Regions from separate parts of the Homo sapiens genome. Here regions 1 and 3 are each linked to region 2. Evidence: promoter capture Hi-C in 16 types of primary human blood cells and fetal thymus (Javierre and others, 2016). All regions are on one chromosome and are shown on one strand. Each heading gives the region's core, a stretch centred on a gene start or on the middle of the fragment in contact. The rest is flanking DNA. Distances are from core to core; before and after follow the strand shown. Region 1 overlaps OR4K2 (olfactory receptor family 4 subfamily K member 2). Region 2 holds the start of OR11H4 (olfactory receptor family 11 subfamily H member 4). Region 3 has its middle 21 kb from the start of OR4K5.

Region 1 (3,999 bases), core at 1,005-3,504, 360 kb before region 2:
CAATTTATTGGAAAAGAGGACCAAGGAATGAGGAGAAGAAATATAGATTAAAGCAGAACTAGGAGATAATGACAATTACCCACAGTGAGCAACTGAGTCACTTAGTGAGATGCTCCTAAAGTATGACAAGCTAGCAAGATTCCTATAATCCTTAGGAACTCCATACTGCTGTAGGATCTTAGCCTCTGACAGAGAAGCAATGATTTTCCACATACGTTCCCAAGCCACTCCTACTTAACATTTAAACCAATTTGTGATCTCTTCTATTAAAGAAAACTCTAGATATATTTTATTTCGAATGTTAATGACGTCCATAAAATTGCCGTAAGTGTAGCAATCTTTACCAACCACTTTTAGTTCATCATCAAAGCAATACAGTCATGATATTTCTTTCTGATAATGCGGAATGAGTAGGGAGGCTGGAGAATTCTGCAAATCAGAAAATATGAAATGAGTTGCAGATCAGTACACTTTGTTTTGTGCAGACACGATGGTTGCTTAGTTCCTAAGAAGTTAAAACTAGAATTGAGAGACACAGTTTATAACAGTTGAATTTATGGGGAGTCCATGCTTTCATTTTAAAGTGTTATATTGCTTTCCATTTTGGTTATTTTTTTCTTGAAATATTTGGATGTAAAAATAATGAATCTGCATTTAGTAATACATTGTCAATGTAATAAGTATGTTTTTGTACACAAATAGGTTTTATTACTGTTATAAATAAATCTGGTAGGTTCAATATTAGCTTTAATGTATACAAAGTATTACTACCACCTGCTGGTACTAACTGGAATTGCAAGTATTGAAAGAGGAAAAATAATTGTGTATACCCTACTTTGCAAATCATCTTTAAATGATGGCAAACATTCATGAGTTAACTCTTATTTAGAATTTTCTAAATGATATTGATAAAATATAGTGTCTTATATATGATCCAACATGTATCCACAAAGGGAAAGATATGTTGCAACCACAGTATTTGATAATATCAAGTTGTTATTTTCTGGTATGATTGAGTAAATGGAGAAAACAAATGAAATGCATTAATTATCATTTATGAAAGATAATTAAAACAGAAAATCCTTAGATGTTCATATTAAACCAAGTTATAAAAGGAATTTATTTTTTCTTCATCAGTTTGTGTTTTATTTCTTCATTAATGTACTAAGCAAATAAGGAAAAAACTTACAGCTTGAAAGTCTGTGATACTGTGTTTAAAGCCTGAGCAGTTTTGAAATTATTAGATAATAACGTCTACAGTATTAACATAAAATAAAACATGCTTCTGTAAGCACAAGATTAGCATAATTCTATTTTAAATAGGGATACAAATAGGCCAATTTAGGTTTTGAGTGTGAACTTTCTCTTGGTTGCAGTTATATGTACAAATATGTTCATATTCAAGGACTTCGTTTATGTAGAATGTTTTAGCTGGTGCTTAAAAATGCTAGAAATAATTCTTTTACTTGACATATTTCTTTGTCCAGGGAATATTTTCAAAACTGTGCTGCTTTTTGCAATATAAAACTGTGGAATCTTTTGGAAGAGACGCTATTGATTTTCTGTGCTTTTGTGGAGAATTCTAAAACTCAAGAACATTTGCCAAAATACCCTCAAAGGTGTAGCTGATCAGCAGACAACTCTATAAGGCAAGTCAATAATGAGATTAAGTAGTTGGATTGATAGTAAAATTCTGTGGCTGATAATAAAAAGGATTACAGAAAGCCTTTGGAGGGCTTACATATATAAATGGAACTATCACATTTCTCGGTGGCTTAGTGTGAGGAGTCAATATTCATGGTACCTCTGCATGTTATATAAACACTTAAAAATCTTAGTTAGGACTTTAGGACTCATGGTGGTTGGTTTTATCGATATATCTCTTAGACAAGATGCTGACACTCTTTCACCAAGGATAACTGCAGTGACATGGCCATGGACTCGTTAAGCAATAGTAAGGATGGTGCCAGCTGCCACCAGAGTTTCCAGAGACAGAGATAATGTTCTGCAGAGAATACAAGATAAGCAGGCAAGTATAATTTTAAGTGATCTGCACTATCTGCAATAACACAACTGAGGGAGTTCTGGAGCATTTATAAGAAGAGTGTGTTGACAAGCAACTTCATCTTCCTCTACGTGTTTAGGAAGCTGTGAAGCTTGACAACAATTGAATGCAGATGGAAAAACTGTTAAAAATCAGGTATAGATAAAAACAGATAAAGTGTAAATTTTAATATGTGAAGGAACTGGATATATGTAATAGCAATAAAAACTACAAATTATGTTTGTTTCTAAAAATGCTTAAGAAAACTTTTAGAATACTATATGGTATAATGATGGTGGATTTACCATAAAGCTTGTAAAGCTTAGGTTTTATAACTCCTCCTTTGCATGGATTTCCTCGAAGGCCCTAGAATGGAAACTAACAACCTTTTATTAGTTATTTCGATTTTTTTTTCCTGAAACAGGTGTCCTCAAACTGTATAAGCTTTAAGCCTAGCTTGTCCAACCCATGACCTGCAGGTTGCATGCGGCTCAGGAGATGGCTTTAAATTCAGCCCAACACAAATTCATAAGCTTTCTTGAAACATTATAAGATTTTCTTGTGATTTTTTTGTAAAGCTCATCAGCTATCTTTAGTATCAGTGTATTTTATGTGTGGCCCAACACAATTCTTCTTCCAATGTGGCCCAGAGAAGCCAAAACTTTGGACACCCCTGCATTAAAAGGCTCTGCAGAATCTGAAGTCTAATGTGTAGTTTTAAAAGTCTTAGACTCTGGTATCTTTTTTTTTTTTAAACAGTGTTTAATACTACTTCTACTACTAGTGGTGTAAACTTAAGCTAAGTACTTAATACCTCTTAGCCTCAGTTTCTACATATGTTAAAGGAGATAATAGTGGTCTCTACACCACAGAGTTATTTGAGGCATAAAAGAAGCAAATAATATGAAGCATATGGTTGTCAATAAATGTTAGTCATTGTATCATTCTGGGTGATAACCTCTGGATATCTTTGTTTATGGGACTTGATAGTCTCTTGAGCTAACACTTGACTTGTTTAATTTAAAAGGTAAATTTTCATTTATATGTTTTAAATATTCATGTCTGTATATGTGTGTCAGTATTAATTTGAAAAATTAAAAGTAACTTCCACTAGAAAATTACACTGGTTCTTACATTAATTAAAGCTTCTGGAAACTTGTTTTTCTGTCTGTTCACAACTGTCATTAATCAAGAGAAGTATCAAGTTGTTGCTTAATCATTATGCTATTGCTTCTTTACAATGAATAAATATTAAATTGGTTTATTGATTTTAGGATGAATTCACATTACAATTGTTGTCAGAATAAGAATGATGTTTGACTCATATTATTAAGGTGAAGAGATAGGCAGATGGATAGATTAGTAGATAGATGAAGTTTTGTATTATATGAGCTGTCTTATGTGAAGTATTTTTCTGCATTGATAAGGGTTTAGGATAATGTGATCACTGGATTATGCTGCTATATAGAAGTTCTTGGTAAAATGCTGTTATTTGTGCATATCCAGACTCCTTATGAAAGTATTTTCAAATTTAAAAAACTACCAGTGAATCTATTCTCTACATGTGAGTTTTTAAACAACTCAGTTATAGCAAAATTTGTTGAGAGAGTTGGAGTAATCCTCCTATTTCCCTATTCTTTCCCTGATATTATTTTGCATGATTTTTGGATGTATATGTCAATTGAAAAACGGGGAGAAGAAAACAGCCAGGGAAATCTAATTCATGTGAACTTCTTGCATGTACTCTCAGATGCCAATGAAATCCGCTAAGCAACTTGATAGTTTTTTGGTTTATAAGTTTCTGTTGTGCTTTGTTGTTTGGAATTATTTTTAATGCTCTTGGTTACACCATGAGGTAAATATGCACAAATTATTCTGGAGCGTGTAGGACCAACACTCAAATGAGACTGGAAATGTGACTGGGATCATTGATTCATGTATTCTGTCTCTATTGT
Region 2 (3,654 bases), core at 401-2,900:
TTTATAGTATATATCTTTAATATAAATATATATACTATATATACTATACATACTATATAGTATATATAGTATATATACTATTTATACTATATTATATATAGTATATATACTATATATATATATATACTATATATATACTATATATATAATATAGAATATATTATATATAATATAGAATATATTATATATAATATAGAATATATTATATATAATATAGAATATATTATATATAATATAGAATATATTATATATTACATATTATATATATAAATATATTACATATTATATATAATATATTATATATTATATATAATACGTATTATACATAATATATTATATATTATATATAATACATATTATATACATATTATATATATTATATATATTATATATAATATATATTATATATAAATATATACTATGTATATTTATATAGTATATATAATAGATGGTATATATATGCTACATAAATATATACTATATAAATATATAGTATAATTATCTAAATTATATAATTATAATTATATAATTATATAATTCTTAATTTATAATATATAAATTTATATATTTATATATAAATAAATATATAAATTTATATATTTATATATAAATAAATATATAATATATAATTATATATTCTATATAAATATAATATATAATTTATAAATATATAAAAATATAATTATATAAATATATAAATATATATACTATATAAATATATACTATGTATAACATACACTATATAGTATATAAATATATACTATATATAATATATAGTATATAATATTATATATAATATTACATTATATATATTTATTATAAATATATATTATATATATTACATATATTATATAAATTATATATATTTATTATATATTATATATAATCTATATATAGTATATATATTATATATAAATATATATACTATCTATTATATATAAATATATATATACTATCTATTGTATATATTATAGATGAGCCCCAGTGTTGGAAAGAGAACGCACTCCAGGGAAACTTGGGTAAGCCACTGAAACCATATGGGGAGAAACACAGGGCTTTACAGTAATCCCTGAGTGAAAACATAGATGTAATACTGATTCGCATGTTAAACCTCTCAGCAAATTCTGAGAAAAGCCTCTGGAGTCTCCAGGAATGAAGGCAGGGCAATAAACCACATATAATGCCCTCACCTGGAGTTTTCCTCAACAGAGCCAGTGAAGAGGAGATGCTTGATGCTGAGGTTATGCTCAATTCTGCCTCATTTCTGCCGTGCGCACCGCTGTCTCCAAACTGAGCCAGAAAAGCCATGATTGTAGGTAAGAAACCACTGCTATGATATGCTACAGAGTCTCTTTGACTTTATAAATCTGATTAGGCACTGTTTCTCTGCAAAGACTCAAAGGAGGCAGTATAATAGTATAGTATAAAAGTTCCATATGTGAATCCAGGACACATATTTATTGGGTAAAAAGTCATGCCCCTCTCTGAGCCTCATTTGTAAAATGAAGTTAGATCATTATACCATTTCTTCTAATTCTATGATTTTATGGTCATTAACAACCATCTTTCTGAAAACAATCTTACTTTCCAGGAATAATCAGGTGGTGTGTTCCTTCTCTCAGGACACCTGGGAAGACAATATACTAAGTGAGGGGCATTCAACAGAAGGCTATTAAATCAAGCTATCACACTTATGGTAGGTGGACTGGTGGGTTGATTGGTTGGTTGGTAGTTTCTTGTACTGGAAAGGAGTACAGTACATGAAAGAGCTGGTTTCGGCCGGGCGCGGTGGCTCATGCCTGTAATCCCACCACTTTGGGAGGCCGAGGCAGTCCGATCACGAGGTCAGGAGATCCAGACCATCCTGGCTAACACGGCGAAACCCCGTCTCTACTAAAAATACAAAAAATTAGCCGGGCGTGATGGCGGGCGCCTATAGTCCCAGCTACTCAGGAGGCTGAGGCAGAAGAATGGCGTGAACCCGGGAGGTGGAGCTTGCAGTGAGCCGAGATCGCGCCACTGCACTCCAGCCTCGGCGACAGAGCGAGACTGTCTCAGAAAAAAAAAAGAAAAAGAAAAAGAAAGAGCTGGTCTCCTAGGATTGTAGCTCAAATAATGATATATCTCAAAAATCAGGAGAAACAGTATGTTTGTGTCATAAAATAATGAAGATTCTATTCTAATTACCTAACTATTCCCAGACAGCGTTTTGGAGACTTTGGAGGGTGGTGTTATATAAAACTTTGTGGAAACAGTTTATTCCGTCAATGCGAAAACTCTGAAATTGATTACTCGGGTCTTTCTATTAAGCTCCCCAGCTTTTGATCATTCCATTACTTATCTACACTTCTCCAAAGGCTTCAGAAAAAACAATGTTGCTGCTAATAAAGCACTTGCAGAGTAGGGTAGTAGAAAAGACGAAGTGTAGTGTAAAGTTGTCAGTGTATAATGGAGAATGTCCTAAACTGTTATTCTCATCAAGCAGGCATTCAGAACAAAGGGCGGGAGGCTCAGATCTCACAATTCTGGTTCCCAATTTAAGTCTGAGCCTGGACTTGTTCTCTGACCTGTGTATAGCAGAGAAAGGGATGTATTTATGCTTCGTAAACAACAATCTGGAAATCACCTATTGAGCACCTTATTCAAGGAAGATGGTAAACAAATGCCTTTTAAATTCAGCATTGATTGGAAAGCTGGACAACTTTAGAACTCAGATGCTCCAAATTTCCCTTTTTATGCATCCTTAAAAACTACCAAAGAACTAGTGATGTTGAGATTCAAATCTTCGTTCCCAAGAATACCTGATCCTTCCTTCAACTTCTGTGTTCTTTGTTGCCTTTCACATTTTTCTTTTACATTTCTGACAAAGTTATGACTGGTGACCTGCAATAAACAAGACAAGAGATCTAAACTTAACAAGAAACTCAATATTGAAACTACCTTCTTTTTTTTTTTTTTTTGAGGTGGAGTCTCGCTCTGTCACCCAGGCTGGAGTGCAATGGTGTGATCTCGGCTCACTGCAACCTCCACCTCCTGAGTTCAAGCAATTCTTCTGCTTGGCCTCCCAAGTAGCTGGGATTACAGGCACGCACCACCACACCCAGCTAATTTTTGTATTTTTAGCAGACAAGGGTTTTCACCATGTTGGCCAAGCTGGTCTCAAACTCCTGACTTCAGCGATCTACCCACTTTGGCCTCTCAAATTGCTGGAACTATAGGCATAAGACATTACGCCCAGCCAAAACTACCACTTTTTTAAGACTTAATCAGCACATTTTAAGTATTAATCAAGTATAAGATTACTGTTGTTTAAACACATTTGTGTATTTTATTTAATTCTTAAATACATAAACTTGTTGCTACTGAAAAGTACATACCTAGTCAAATATTTGAAAATGTCCTTACCTTCCTTTCAGTAAACAAAATTCTAATACATAGGATTGCAGATGAAGCCCCATTTCATCTCAGATTCTTTTAGAAAATCCCTTTGTTTTCACCACCGAAAAAGCTCACTAAATAAACTAAATTTTTGTATAGAAAACATCATTTTCCTTATTTCATCTACATGGTATCTGATTACAAAAAGTAAGATAGTTCCTTTTTGTATAGTATGTGTAAAAAACATAAAAATAAACACTGCCGTTCGTTAGAGAT
Region 3 (3,977 bases), core at 1,022-3,521, 340 kb before region 2:
TCAAAGATAAAAATCTTAAAATGGTACTTCCTTTAATAATGCAATGTTTCTCCCTCTGGATGGCTTTCTCTATTATTAAGATAAATTCCAAATTATGTAATTTTTTTTTTTTAAGATTTTAACCTTTTTTTTTCTCTTTTTTTTTTAATTATACTTTAAGTTTTAGGGTACATGTGCACATTGTGCAGGTTAGTTACCTATGTATACATGTGCCATGCTGGTGCGCTGCACCCACTAACTCATCATCTAGCATTAGGTATATCTCCCGATGCTATCCCTCCCCCCTCCCCCCACCCCACAACAGTCCCCAGAGTGTGATATTCCCCTTCTTGTGTCCATGTGATCTCATTGTTCAATTCCCACCTATGAGTGAGAATATGCGGTGTTTGGTTTTTTGTTCTTGCGATAGTTTACTGAGAATGATGATTTCCAATTTCATCCATGTCCCTATAAAGGACATGAACTCATCATTTTTTATGGCTGCATAGTATTCCATGGTGTATATGTGCCACATTTTCTTAATCCAGTCTATCATTGTTGGACATTTGGGTTGGTTCCAAGTCTTTGCTATTGTGAATAATGCCGCAATAAACATACGTGTGCATGTGTCTTTATAGCAACATGATTTATAGTCCTTTGGGTATATATGTAATATTTTTAAGCTAGATAAATCTTATGTACTCTAGATTTAAGCTATATTTGTTCTAGTTTTTAAACTTTGCACCTCTCACCAAATAACTTTTACCTCTTGACATACAGATACTGTTTTTTTTTTTCCCTCTGCTTAAAACTTCCTTGTCTAGAAACATAATCATACATTTAACCTGGCTAAATCTGACTCTCTTTATGTATAAGCAGAGACCTTCCACACATTTTTAAAATATAATAAAACCTTCCATACCACCCTCTACTTCCCCTATGAAAAAAAACAAGTATAATTTTACTTTAATTATTTGTCAAGGTATGTGCTTTCTGCCTTAGAATATAAATTCTATAAAGTCAGGACCTGCTATCTTGTACCTCAATGAATTTCCAACTCCTAGTTTAGTATATGTAAACTAGAGTTCCTTGATCATTCAATGAAGAAATGCAGTTATGTGCTGTTACAAAGTGATTTCAAATTAACCAGGCATTGAACACAAAAAGCTTGTAACAGGACAAGTAAGCCATGACAGAAGGCATAATTGTAGTTAAGAATAAAAGTTATTTTTTAAGCTTCCTAATTTGAACGTTTAAAATATATACAAAAGATGATAATGTGCTCACATGCTCCCATCTGTGTATTTATACCCAGGTTTCATAGTTATCAACATATGTCTAGTCTTTTCTTTTTTCCTATGGTTTCAAGTAAAATTGCTAAGTACAAGGGTCAATTGCACACATATTTTGTAGACATTGCCAAATACACTTCCTTTTTATTGCATTCTCATTTATATGAGAGTACCTCATATATATGAGTACCTCATAGACTTCTCAAGAGAGTACATTGAAATTTTAGATTTTTGTCAATGTAATATATGAAAAATTATATTTCAGTGTAGTTCTACTTTTAAACCAGAAGTTCTTAAAATTCCCCATCAAAACCCTCACAAAATTGCTCTTGGTTCCTGAGAAGAATGAGTAAGAGGATTGGCATGGTGAAGAAAGACTCTCTGTTCAGGCTTTCCTGTGCATTTTGCTGCTAAAGCATGGCTTTCTCAAAACACTGTTATAATAAACAGATGTTACCATTCTTTGCCCCCCCCCCTCAGAAAGTCAACAAACAAAATTCCTTGAGAATCCAAAAATTCTGTTGCCATAACCTTTGTTTTTGACTGGACAACTTTGATTGTACCAATACTATCTCTTGGTAGTCATTCTTTTGATTGTGCTGTGTCTTTGGGATCATACTGGTAAAGCCATGTTTCATGTTCTGTTACAATTCTTCAAAGAAATATTTCAGGATCTTGATCCCACTTGATATAGTTTGGATGTTTGTCCCCTCCAAATCTCATGTCTAAATGTGATTTCCAATGTTGGAGGTAGGGCTTGGTTGGAGGTGATTGAATCAGGAGGTGAGTCCCTCATGAATGTCTTAGTAGCATCCCCTTGATGATAAGTGAGTTTTCGTTCAGTGAGATCTGGTTGTTTAAGAATCTGAGACTCCTCTTTCTCTTTCTTGCTCCTGTTTTTGCCATGTGATGCACTTTCTCCCCACTTGTCCTCTGTCATGATTGTAAGCTCCTGAGGCCCTCATCAGAAGCAGATGCTGGCACCATTCTTCCTACCAGTTAAGGAACTGTGATCAATTAAGCCCCTTTTCTTTATAAATTACCCAGTCTCAGGTATTTCCTTATAGCAATTCAAGAATGACCTAATACAAAATTGGTAATGAGGAGTGGGACGTTGCTATAAGGATACTTGAAAATGTAGAAGTAGCTTTGGAACTGGATAATGGGCAAAGTTTGAAAAAGTTTGGAGGGCTCTGAAGAAGACAGGAAGATGAAGGAAAGTTTGGAACTTCTTAGAGACTGGTTAAATAGTTGTGACCAAGATACTAATAGAAATATGGACAGTGAAGACCACACTGATGAGGTCTCAGATAGAAATGAGAGTTTTGGGGAACTGGAGTAAAGGTCACTCATGTTACACCATAGCAAAGAACTTGTTTGCATTGTGTTCATGTTCTAGGGATCTGTGGAAGTTTTAACTTAAGAGTGATTACTTAGGGTATCTAATGGAAGAAATTTCTAAGTAGTAAAACATTCAAGATGTGGCCTGGTTGCTTATAACAGCCTATGGTCAGATATGAGAAAAAAGAAATAAATTTAGATGTATTTAAAAGGGAAGCAGAGTGTAAAACTCTGAAATATTTTTAGCCTGGACATGTGGCAGAGAAAGAATCCAATCCAAGCAGGCTGTAGGGCAATCACTTGCTAGAGAGACTAGCATGACTAAAGGGCAGCCAAGTGCCAATACTCAAGACAATGGGAAAAAGGCTCCAAATGTATTTATTTCAGAGATCTTGGAGACAGCCCCTCCCATCATAGGGACAGAGGCTTAGGAGGAAAGAACGATTTCAGGGGCCAGGCCCAAGATGGCACTGCTCTGCTCAGCCTCAAGACACTGCTCCCACATTCCGGCTGCTTCAGTTCCAGCCGCAGTTCAAAGGGTCCCAGGTACAGCTTGGGCTGCTCCTTCACAGGGTGCAAGCTGTAATCCTTGGTGCCTTCTATGTGGTGTTAATCCTGCATGTACACAGAAGAATACTGTGGCAAGGGTGAAAAAGGTTTGGCAGCTTCCACCTGTGTTTCAGGGGGTATATGAGGAAGCCTCTATTCCCAGGCAGAAGCTTGCCACAGGGGAGGAGACTTCACAGGGAACCTTTACCGGGGCAATGCTGAGGGGGCAATGTGGGGTTGGAGTCCCCACACAGAGTCCCCACTGGGGCACTGCCTAGTGGAGCTGTGGGAGGGGGGACACCACTCTCTAGACCCCAGAATGGTCAATTCACCTGCAGCTTGCACACTGTGCCTGGAAAAACCACAGGCACTTAACTCCAACTTGTGAGAGCAGCCATGGGGACTGCAACCTGCAAGGCTACATAGGCAGAGTTTCTCAAGGCCTTAAGAGTCCACCCTTTGCATCAATATGTTCTGGATGTGGGAAATGGAGTCAAAGGAGATTATTTTGGAGCTTTCATATTTAATGACTGCCCTGCTGGTTTTCAGACTTGCATGGGACCTATTATCCTTTTCTTTTAGCCAATTTTTCTCTTTCAGAATAGTAATGTTTACCTAATGCTTGTACTACTATTAGAGCTTGGGAGTAAATAACTTCTTTTGATTTTAGAGGCTCATAGGTGAAAGGAGATGAGTCTCAGATGAGACTTAAGACTTTGGATTTGATATTGGAACGAGTTAAGACGTTGGGGGACTGTTAGTAAGAGATGATTATTTTGTGATGTGAAAAAGACATGAGATTGGGAGGGCCAGGGG

What was found. The method cuts DNA at HindIII sites, captures the fragments that hold promoters and counts their contacts. A CHiCAGO score of 5 or more calls a contact.
Region 1: a fragment that was not itself captured here is called in contact with the fragment with the promoter of OR11H4 in region 2 in 1 of 17 cell types (erythroblasts); the score reaches 5.1 in erythroblasts.
Region 3: a fragment that was not itself captured here is called in contact with the fragment with the promoter of OR11H4 in region 2 in 1 of 17 cell types (erythroblasts); the score reaches 6.1 in erythroblasts.

The regions. Positions count from the first base shown.
Region 1 is chr14:19,877,455-19,881,453 of GRCh38, forward strand. It overlaps OR4K2 (olfactory receptor family 4 subfamily K member 2), which reads left to right. Exons shown (of 2, transcript NM_001005501.2): 2 at 1-3,999. Among named protein-coding and RNA genes, the nearest start is that of OR4K2, 4.3 kb to the left of the region's middle. The HindIII fragment of the contact is 200 bases long and covers 2,155-2,354 here.
Region 2 is chr14:20,237,636-20,241,289 of GRCh38, forward strand. OR11H4 (olfactory receptor family 11 subfamily H member 4) reads left to right here and starts at 1,651. Exons shown (of 2, transcript NM_001004479.2): 1 at 1,651-1,696. The HindIII fragment of the contact is 16,826 bases long and covers 1-3,654 here.
Region 3 is chr14:19,898,112-19,902,088 of GRCh38, forward strand. No RefSeq gene overlaps it. Among named protein-coding and RNA genes, the nearest start is that of OR4K5, 21 kb to the right of the region's middle. The HindIII fragment of the contact is 2,116 bases long and covers 1,214-3,329 here.